Regions from separate parts of the Homo sapiens genome. Here regions 1 and 2 are each linked to region 3. Evidence: promoter capture Hi-C in human tissues and cell types (Jung and others, 2019). All regions are on one chromosome and are shown on one strand. Each heading gives the region's core, a stretch centred on a gene start or on the middle of the fragment in contact. The rest is flanking DNA. Distances are from core to core; before and after follow the strand shown. Region 1 has its middle 33 kb from the start of FLT1. Region 2 has its middle 54 kb from the start of FLT1. Region 3 holds the start of FLT1 (fms related receptor tyrosine kinase 1).

Region 1 (3,683 bases), core at 1,154-3,653, 34 kb after region 3:
GGGTGGCTGAGGCAGGAGAATCACTTGAACCCGGGAGGCGGAGGTTGCAGTGAGCCGAGATCAGGCCAGTGTGCTCCAGCCTGGGAGACAGAGTGAGACTCCTGTTTCAAAAAAAGAAAAAAATACAAAATACAAAAATTAGCCGGGCGTGGTGGCACGTGCCTGTAATCCCAGTTATTTAAGAGGCTGTGGTGGGAGGATCACTTGAACTCAGGAGGCAGAGACTGCAGTGAGTCAAGATCACACCACTGCATTCCAGCCTGGGCAACAGAGTGAGACCCTGGCTAAAAAAATAAAATAAAATAAAATAATAAAAATTAAAAAAATTCACATTTAAGATTTTTAAAGAATGTTTACTACATTGGATTTCTATATTAAGAACTTTATTGGCTGGGTGCGGTGGCTCACATCTATAATCCCAGCACTTCTCGAGGCCAAGGCAGGGGGATCACTTGAGGTCAACTGTTCAAGATCAGCCTAGCCAACATGGTGAAACCCCACGTCTACTAAAAATACAAAAATTAGTTGGGTGTGGTGGCATGTGCCCGTAATCCCAGCTATTCAAGAGGCTGTGGTGGGAGGATCACTTGAACCCGGGAGGCAGAGGTTGCAGTGAGCTGAGATCTTACCACTGCATTCCAGAGTGAGACCTTGCCTAAAAAAAAAAAAAAAAATTCATGTTTAAGATTTTTAAAGAATGTTGTTTACTACATTGAGTTTCTATATTAAGAACATCATTGGCCCAGCGTGGTGGCTCATGCCTGTAATCTCAACATTTTGGGAGGTGGAGGTGGGTGGATCGCTTGAACCTAGGAGTTCGAGACCAGCCTGGCGCAACCTCATCTCTACTAAAAATACAAAAAATTAGCCGGGAGGGGTGGCGCGTGCCTGTAGTCACAGCTACTCAGGAGGCTGAGGTGGGCAGATCTCTTGAGCCCAGGAAGTTGGGGCTGCAGTGAGCCCAGATCACAACACTGCACTCCAGCCCGGGAAATGACAGTGAGACCCTGCCTCAAAAATAAATAAATAAATAAATAAATAAATGAGAAGAACTTCATCTTTTATAAGTGTAATTTATTAAAGGCATGCTATAGTCTTGGACTCAGTGATTTTTACTTACGGGAGAATCTAGGCATTGAAAAATCTAAGGTACTACTGCTCACCTGCTTCCAATGTGGCAGCTTGCTTAAACTGTGAGCAGGATTCCAGGAGGAAACAAACTGACTGGAATCTAGCCTTGCAGACCCAAACCTGCAAGGCGATCGCAAACAAACCCGCAAGGCCATCGCAAACATCCCTAGGTATTTCAAACCTCATTAGGATTCACATGTTTCTTTTTTTTAAGGTGCCATAACTAGGACTCTCTATTGATTTTTTTTTTTTTAACGTAGATCTACCTTTGTTCAGAGAGATTTTTGAGCTTGCCACTGGGTCCCAGGGGGGAAGTGGTCAGACCGTTGCAAAAGCAGCAGCAAGTGAAAAAGAGGAAGGCCCCAGCAAAGGAGCGGAACAGAGGCCGGGAGAGGCGACCCTGCCGACGATGCTCATGTCAGAGGGGCGTCCACAGTTGATCATAATCTTTTCAAGTCCAGGAAATTAATCAGCAATGGGAAAAGGAGTCTAAGATGAATAAAAGGATGTCCGACAATGTGGGCAGAACAGCATGCTAAGAAATCTGGGTGGGCATATTCCATAGGAAAGTGTAATAGTAGGCAGGAGGCAGCTGTGGGGCTAGCAACCAGTCCCCAGCCTCAGGATGAAAGATCTAGAAAAAGGGACCTGGCAAAGGCCCTAGAAGAAGATCACTGGGCAGGAAACCAGGACCAGATCTGAGGTCTAGGAATAGAGCGGGGAAATGGGGAGGGAGGAGGACACCTCAAGTAGCAAGGGATAGTTTGTCGTTAAGTCCTCGAACTGATTTATTTCATATAGACCTCTATTGACAAGGAACAGCTTTCCTGATAGTTTCAGCAATGCGTGGGAAAATAAAAGGTCCATAGTAACCTACACAAGGTAAACCAACATGAATAGCCCACCAGAAGGCAAGGTGAAGGCGAGCTGAAACCATTCTTCAGGTGCTAGATGCTGAGGAGCCTTGGAGACCTCCTAGCTGAAGGTTATCAAAGAAACACAACTCAATAAGCCTCTGCCTTGTTAAGTTTAAGTTCTGCTAATCTTTTTGTGAGAAGACTGTGGGGACTAACCTGCCTCTGTGCTGGCAGCGATAAAGTGAATTGGAAATGCCAGTAGGGTGTGTGGACAGATGGAGACAGGCATCTGGAGCTGCTGGGGACAGACAGCTATTTCTGTTGAAGAGAACAAAAGATGCAAAGAGTCCCTTTTCCCCACTCCCCTCCAACTCTGAGCATTTCTTCTCTGAAACGTTTTCTTTTCTTTCTCATTCATAGAATATAAACTATGTTCAGAAAAAAAATAAGAGTTGATGATAGGGGAAGTTCACTCCTGAATATCTTCCTCCACTATTCATTGGTTTGGGATTGCAACCTGCCTTTGCCCATTGCTGTCATTCTTCAGAGGTAGATGTTTGCAAAAATGTCCAGAGCAGCTGGACCTCAAATCTAAAATTGCTGTAGTAGAAGACTCTCCTCCACTGATCCCTTGAAGCACATCCATGGAATGCCATTGGAAAACTGCCACTGGAGGGCATTAGACATCATTTAATTTGCTCCATGATGACTTTTGACCTCTGAATTCATTTCACATGGATGACCAGGCTAGTCCCATCGTCACCCTCAGACACTTATTTGTCTATTTCTAGGGGCAGAAAACAGTGCAAGCCTTGCAGATATAAGGCGATCCTTTAAGGGGCTCGCAATCTAGTTGGGACACATATATAAAAAGATAACAACTACAGTAGGTTCCAATCAAAGTAGCACATTATATGTAAAAGCCACAGCAACACAGCTCTCAGGGGCAGCAAGCATTTTGCAAAAACAGAGAGAACTCTCCCAAGAAGGTGAACTCACAATATCACAGGGTCTTATACACTCTGCTGCCCTAACTCTCACTTCATCTTGGCTAAGCATAGGAGTGAACTACATTTTTCATTATTAAAGATATGTATTAAACAATTAGGATATGCCCAATTTATACTATTTAGGGATTGTTCCACTTCGTTTTCCCCAAATCTATTTCTACAGACCAGGAGCTATAATTTTTTCCCCTAAGCTTATAAATAAAATAACGCCGGGTGCGGTTGCTCATGCCTGTAATCCCAGCACTTTGGGAGGCTGAGGTGGGCGGATTACCTGAGGTCAGGAGTTCGAGACCAGCCTGACCAACATGGAGAAACCCCATCTGTACTAAAAATATAAAATTAGCCGGGTGTGGTGGCGCATGCCTGTAATCCCAGCTACTGGGGAGGCTGAGGCAGGATAATTGCTTGAACCCAGAAGGTGGAGGTTGCGATGAGCAGAGATGGTGCCATTGCACTCCAGCCTGGGCAACAAGAGCTAAACTCCATTTCAATAAATAAATAAATATAAATAACATGATTACATGTAAACAAAAAATAGAATATGATCATTTATTCATTCATTCATCCGTTCAAGAAGCACTAAGTGGCCTTGGCTTTTACTGCTGGCTTGACTCAGCTCTGTTGGGCAAAGGGCAGAGGACTAAGCAACTGGGAGTGAAGCAATTAGAGGATGATTTTCACATTA
Region 2 (3,428 bases), core at 417-2,916, 54 kb after region 3:
GGCAGGAATCACAGTGTACCCCCAATTCTGGCTCCCGTAGATGGCTGAATGGTGTCACCAGTGAGTGAGATGGGATTGCTGGGGCTAGAGAGGAACTGGTTTGCCAGATGGTGAGGGAATCAAGGGCTCCACTTTGGACATTTTACATTTAAAGCAAACCATGCCAGAAAGTGGACCTCAGGGAGGTAGAGAGCAGAATGGTGGGTACCAGAGGCAGGGAAGGGAAGGGGTGGATGAAGAGAAGTTGGCTAGCAGCCACCAAAATATAGTTAGGTCAAAGGAATAAGTCCTAGCATTTGATAGTACAGTAGGAAAATTAGAGTTAACAACCATTTATTGTATATTTCAAAATGGCTGTGAGAGGAGATTTGTAATGTTCCCAACACAAAGAAAAAATAAATGTTTGAGGTGATGGATATGGCAGTTGCCTGTTTCGATCACACACATTGTGTACATGTATCAAAATATCACATGTACCTGCCAAATTTGTACAACTATGATATATTAATTTTTAAAAAATAAAGCAAAGCATGCCTCCAAGTGGATTTGTCCTATAGGAAGCTGGATGGAGAAGTCGGGGGATTGGAGAGGATTGGGTGTCCTTTTGGAGATCCTTAGCATAGAAATGGCATCCTCATTAGAAAGGATGCTGTCACCCAGAAGAGAGCATAGAGGGGAGAAGAGAGGCTAGAGCCAGCCCTGGAAAGCCAACCTTTAGAGTTGTGCATCCATGCAGGGGGAGGCAGAGAGAAGCCTGCAACAGGTTCTGAAAAAGAACAGCCAAAGAGGAAGGAGACAGAGCAGTGGAGCTTCGGAAGCCAGGAGGAAAGTGAGGAAGTAGTTAGGTAAATCCAGTGCAAAGGTCAAGTAAGATAAAAACAGAAAGCCGGTTATTTGGATTTGCAATATGGAGGTGTTAAGCGGCTTGGACAGGAGTCGTTTGGAGAAGTCTGAGGACAGAAGCTGGGTTAGAGTGGGTTTGATGAGCACACAGGTGATGGGAAGTCAACATTGTTGACAGCTCTTGCAACAGTTAGTTTTGAGGTGACAGGGTGGCAGAGAAAGGCATAGGCAGCAGTAGGAGGCTGAGGAATAAAACGGGTATGCTGGTAAATGTTTAGCAATGCACCCTCTGGAAAGTCAAAGCCTCCATTTGTGGTAATATGAATACTCTCACCATGGCTAACATCAAGCTACCAACATGTTGTCAAACAGCTCATAAAATTCCTGAAAAATCTAGCATTGGCCCCTGGGAGGCACTATCACCCAGCTCCAGCACACCACATCATCGGGGAAGGGCTCTTCTCAGAGAGGTGGGCACTAAAACACACTGGCAAGCCCTTGGAAAGCCCTCCTGAGTAGAAAGAGAGAGCATTGTTTCAGGACAGCAAATGCATGAGCAGGGAAGGTGAGACAGGAGGGAACAAGGTGCCAGGTGCTAATAGGTTTGTTGATTTGAGGGTGGGAAGAGAGGAGAGGCCCCTTTCATGTCTGCCCTTTTGTAAGTGAAAAAAACAAAAATAAAGGCCTTCAGCTGACAGTGATTGGAAGTGGTCTGGATGGAGTGGGAGGATGGTTATGGTGGAGGTGTGTGAACAGGAGTAGGAGAGGAACAGGAAGGTGTGGAGGGTAAGGGGGATGGGATCTGATATAGTTTGGATGTTTGTCCCTGCCAAATTTCATGTTGGAATTTGATCTCCAGTCTCGGAAGTGGGGCGTAATGGGAGGTGTTTGGGTCATGGGGGCAGGGCAGATCTCTCATGAATGGCTTGGTGCCGTCCCCAAGGTAATGAGTGAGTTCTTGCTCTATTAGTTCAAGTGAGAGCTGGTTGCTGTAAAGAGCCTGGCATGGACCAGGCACAGTGGCTCATGCCTTGTAATCCCAACACTTTGGGAGATCAAAGCAGGATTGCTTGAGGCCAAGAGTTTGAGACCAGCCTGGACAACACAGCAAGATCTCATCTCTACAAAAAAAAATTTTTTTAATTAGTTTGGTATGGTGGTGTGCACCTGTAGTCCCAGCTACTCGAGAGGCTGAGGTGGGAGGATCACTTGAGCCCAGGAGCTCAAGGCTGCAGTGAGCTATGATTGTGCCACTGCACTCCAACCTGGGTGACAGAGCAAGGCCCTGTCTCAAAATAAATAAAATTTAAAAATAAATAAACAAAATAAAATAAAGAGTCTGGTACCTCCTTCTCTTTCTTTCTCCCTTTCTCGCTGTGTGACATGCTGGTTTTCTGTCATGACTGGAAGCTTCCTGAGGCCTCACCAGGAGCAAATGCTGGTCCCATGCTTCTTGTATAGCCTGCAGAACTGTGAGCCAAATAAACCTTTTTTAAAGAAATTACCCAGCCTCATGTATTCCTTTATAGCAACATGAAATGGACTAAAACAGATTGAGAGACTGGGGAGAATATAATGACACAGTGCAGGGTGTAACCTGCCTGTGGGTGGCTGCTGTCAAGACTATTGAGTAAAGAGCCGGAGAGGCCAGTGTAGTGGATGTGCCATCTCCCTGAACACTGAAGTGACCACGAATGCTGCAAGAGTTGGGGTGGAAAGGAAGACAGGCAGCCAGGAGTGAAAACCCTTAGTACATGAGTGTGTGTATGTGTGTGTGTGTGTGGGGGGTGGGTAGCGGGAAAAATCCTGGAAGTCTGTGTGTGACATTCATTAGGAGGAGGAAGAGGTGACATGTGAGCATGTGAGTGGTGTGAGGGAGGGAGAGACATGGTCTGCAAGTGGTAATGTGACTCAGGAACACACAAATTTGTTTCTGGTCCTGAGATCCAAGCGGGGATGTGTGAGAGAGAAACAGTCTCTCATGGGTCGGACTGCAGTGTGGAACATTCTCAGGGTCAGCTAGGCTCTCCCGAAGGAATGAGGTAGAGCTGGAGGGGTTTGCTGATTGTAGAGGGGTGACTCCTGGGGGGTCAATGGAGGGTTGGTGGGGATTGGGTCCCATTGGGATGAACACAGCGGTATGGTGTGTGATCCTGGGTGATCAGAGAGGCCTGGATTTCTGGCAGTGATTATGGTAAGAATGGATGTGAGGCATGCAACCTTGTTTGGAGGCAGCACATTCCACACCAGTATGCCTCCAACATTATCAACAAGATGTCAGGCTTGAGGAGCTATGAGACATTACCTGATTTAACCTCAGTGAACTGAAAATCTACAAGCATCATCTGGCATCCCCCAATCACCGAGTTCCTTCATTTAGAATCTCCTGAGTTCCAGCTCAGTTTTCTGGCAACAAATTTTGATTTCTTGGCCTAGGATACTCCTGTCTCAGAGAGGTTGTCTTTCCGAAATTTAACTTCACATTTCTTTCATGTGTTCCCTTCGGTTCTCTTCTCCTGGCTGGGTTTTTGTGATGTGTCAAAGAGTTCCTTTTATAGGATTTGTTTTCCCTTAGTCGTCAGCTT
Region 3 (3,633 bases), core at 578-3,077:
AATAGAAAATACAACATTTTATTTAATATAGTTATGTTAGCACCTTTCCCAACCTACAGTGAGTTCTCAGAAGTTACCACTTCGCCCTGTCTCCGGGTTTAGTAGTTTCTCCAATCTAATTGGAACTATTACTTGTTACTTGGAAACTGACGGTCTAGTTAGTCTTCCCACTGAGAAAGAATATTTAATTATTACTGCTTTTTGGGTTTAACAAGCTTTTTGTTGTTGTTGTTGTTGTACTACGCTCCATCCTATTGACTTTTCTTCCCGGGAATCATTGCAATGACTTATTTTATATTACTATATTTTATTTCATATTTTACCTTTTCTCCACGATGCTTAAAAGAAAGGCGCTCCGAAATCTGGCTCTCTGCGCCCAGGGGAACGAGGCACAAATCTCCGCCACTCAGCCCCACTGAGCAGAGACTGCGAGTCCGAACCCTCAAGTTCCTCGGGGCTTTGACCCCTCAATGGCGGCGGTCTAACTGCTGGTAAAACCCCCGGCCCCTGACTGTTCCACCGCCCGTCTCCCAAACGCCCAGCGAAGGCTGACTTAGGTGGCGGGCGGACCTCATCGATTCCTCAAACCACATCGTTTGGTCAAAATCGCCCGCCCTCTCTTCGCTCGGATTTTAAAGGCTAGGCTTGTAAGTCAGTAAGTTAACGGTATTTGGGCCCTGGGCTGCCCTTGTGGGTCAGGGTCACTGATGTCCGCGACACGGACTGGACCGCGCACCACGCCTGCTCCCGGCAGAGGCCCCACCCGGGTGGCTGAGCGCAGCGCACTGGGGCCCCGCGGTCCGAGAGCGGCGGGGAGGAGCGGGCGCTCGCCGAGCGTTCCCCGGGACAGTCCGGCTTGGGGACTCAAGCGGGTCATGGGATGCCGGCGCTGGCCCTCTCCTGAGATCCTCCTGCTCCCCCGCAGGCACGAGTCCCCTCCAAATCGGCTCCCCTCCTACACTCTCGTGACGCGAGGTCGCGGCCAGTGCCCAATATCACCAAAGTCCCGGCCTCAGCCCAGCCCCGGGCAGCCTGGCAGGCTTTCAGGAGCCTCTGCTCCCGGCTCCGGGGGACCCTGCGTACCTGCCCCAGGTCCTCTGGGAATGGGCTCTGGGTGCCAGGCAGGTCCCGGTGCGTGCTGCTCCTAGTGCCCAGGGCCTCGGCAGTGAGACCCCAACCCGACAGCTGGATAAGGGATCAGCGATCCTGTCGCAAACGGACAGCCCCAGCGCGGACCCGGTCTGAGCGCTGATGCTCGCGGGTCCAGGCCAGCCACTCCTCGAGGCGCTCCCTCGGAGAAAGGGCGCAGCGGCCCCAAGCGTGCCCGCTGCAACTAGTGTCCCAGGTTCTCGCCGTAGCCAGCTTCTCCGGGCTACAGCCTCGTCTCCCCGCGTGCACCCCGCCCTGGCCTCGGAGGCTCTGCCCTCCGGCCGCCCCATCGCAGCCCGCCTCAGGCCCCGGCCCCCAGCCGCGCCTCACCTGTGAGAAGCAGACAGCTGAGCAGCGCGCACAGCAGGACCCCGGTGTCCCAGTAGCTGACCATGGTGAGCGCGACGCGGCCTGCTCGCCCGGTGCCCGCGCTCCCCGCGGCCAACGACCCGGCCGCCAGAGTCCGTCCTCTCGTTCGCCGCCGCCGGCCCCGCGCCCTGAGCGCCCGTCTCGCGGCTCCAGCCAGGAGACAACCACTTCCCCGGGTAATCCTCGCCGCCAGGCGCCCGCTGGCCGCTGCACCCGAGCCCCGGAGCCCGCTCCGAGCCGCCGCCGCTGCCGGGGAGGAGCCGAGAGGAGTGTCCGCCTGGCGCGCTCCGAGCCTCCCGCGGACCTCGATGAAGAGCAGCCGAGGGCGGGGGCGATTTATAACCTTTCCCCAGCCCACTTCCTACCCCGGCACCTCCTTCTGGTGACGTCAAGGGGTCCCCCACCCCTCATCCGCCTCCCCACCTACCCTCTTCTTCCTCCCAGGCTCGCTTCCCTGCGGCTACGGAGAGGGGCGGGGGCCGACGAGGGCGGGTGGCCCGGGGCCGAGCGCGCGTGGGGAGGTGCTGGCGACGCGGGCCCGGGAGCGCGGCCCCGGCAGGTTCAGGGTCTTTGCTCCGCGCCCTCTTGCCCTTGCCCCTCCTCCTGCCCATCGCGCTCAGGAAATCCTTGCAGACTCCCTCCACCCGGCTTACTCAGCTCTGGGGGCCGCCCGAAACTGGGGAAGGGACAAGGCTGAAGCTCCGCCGCCTGGCCCTAGGGGCGGAAAGTCCGATCCAAGGGAAGCTGGCCGCGCCTCCGCGACGGTGTTCTTGGCACGGAGGACTGAGGCGCAGTCCGGCTGTCTCCCCTTGCCTGCTCTTCCCGCGCTGTCCCGCCGCTCCTGACCCCTTCAGACTGTCCCGAGAAGTCTAGGAAGGCACCGGAGACCCTCGGCACAAGGCACTGAACCTGGAGCGCCTGAGGGGAACTGACGCTTGCTTGGCACCTTTGGGAAGACTGCGAACCAGCTCAGGTCCCAGGGGAGCGTGTCCGTGTCTTTTTCGGCCGCATTGATGCACCCGCCCAAGTCATTTCCTCAGTCTTCTGCTTCCTAGAAGCAAAACAAGGAATAACATTATGATACCTTTAAAAAGCTGAGGCGTGAAACTGCTCCTGCAACTTGGAAGCGCAGGGCACTTGAACTTTATTCCCTAAATGCTCGAAAAAGAAATCTTTCTGGTGGCAGCTTGCTACTCAAGATGAGTGACTCTGACCACAACCGGCTGAAATTAACTTGAGGCCCTAGATCATTTGCTATGACACTAATTCCACGTTGTTCCTCAATTATGTCTCCATTACCTCAAAGGCTGAAGTCGTCCTGGCTGCACGGAGCAGCCCAGTCTTGTCTCTGTAAATACCGCAGATTTGAAAAATAGTCCTATTGGAACCCGTCAGAGGGATGTAATACAAGGGACTGTGATGGCTCTTGAACGGAGCCAGAGACTCTTCCTGAAGGACTGGACTACCTCCCCGCCTAGGAAGGTTGGGTAACCCAAAGTTGCCACATTTCTGGGCTGCACACCAAGGAGAGGCCCCGGCCACTCCACACAGGAAATGCACGTCTGGGCACCTGGAGCCGCAGGACCTGAGCCACTAACTGTCCCTGGATCCCTTCTGCTTCAGAGGCAAGGAAGACTGCCGGAGTCATTGCTTGCCTGCTGGCTTCACCAGCGCTTTCTGTTTTTCCAGTTCTCCTCACCACTCTTCCTGGCGCCTTTCTCTGCCTCCCGCACCCCTGCCTCCTCTAAAACCCACAGCATCATCCCTCAGAACAGCTGGAAGCGGACAGCTGATCCTTCTCCTTGCTGGTCCCCCAGCCCAGAACACAGCCTGGGACATACGTGCGGAGCCACAGTGTCTGTTGGTCTCACCTGAGAGCTGCTTGTCACTCCCACACCCTCTTTCAAGGAGAAGCTGTCAGCATTGTCCTTCTGCAGCATTCAACAGGGGCCAGGCATTGGGTTAGGGCTGAAAACACTGATGGAGAGCCATCATCTTTGCCTTCTAAAGGGCTTGGACTGTGATAAGAAGGTGGACACTTGAAGTGGCTGCAGGACCGGCATTCCAGTGCTGGAGGGGTGTTTAGTCCTCCATCAGCTCAGAGAAGTAAAGGCA

What was found. The method cuts DNA at HindIII sites, captures the fragments that hold promoters and counts their contacts. A contact is called where the count stands out against the background at its distance.
Region 1: a contact is called between a fragment that was not itself captured here and the fragment with the promoter of FLT1 in region 3, in 1 of the 25 tissues and cell types used here (psoas muscle).
Region 2: a fragment that was not itself captured here is called in contact with the fragment with the promoter of FLT1 in region 3 in 1 of the 25 tissues and cell types used here (IMR-90 fibroblasts).

Annotation. Positions count from the first base shown.
Region 1 is chr13:28,526,381-28,530,063 of GRCh38, forward strand. No RefSeq gene overlaps it. Among named protein-coding and RNA genes, the nearest start is that of FLT1, 33 kb to the left of the region's middle. The HindIII fragment of the contact is 3,033 bases long and covers 888-3,683 here.
Region 2 is chr13:28,547,799-28,551,226 of GRCh38, forward strand. No RefSeq gene overlaps it. Among named protein-coding and RNA genes, the nearest start is that of FLT1, 54 kb to the left of the region's middle. The HindIII fragment of the contact is 5,915 bases long and covers 1-3,428 here.
Region 3 is chr13:28,493,301-28,496,933 of GRCh38, forward strand. It overlaps FLT1 (fms related receptor tyrosine kinase 1), which reads right to left and starts at 1,828. Exons shown (of 30, transcript NM_002019.4): 1 at 1,480-1,828. The coding sequence starts at 1,543. RefSeq lists silencers at 1,314-1,363, 1,444-1,563, 1,684-1,733. The HindIII fragment of the contact is 17,639 bases long and covers 1-3,633 here.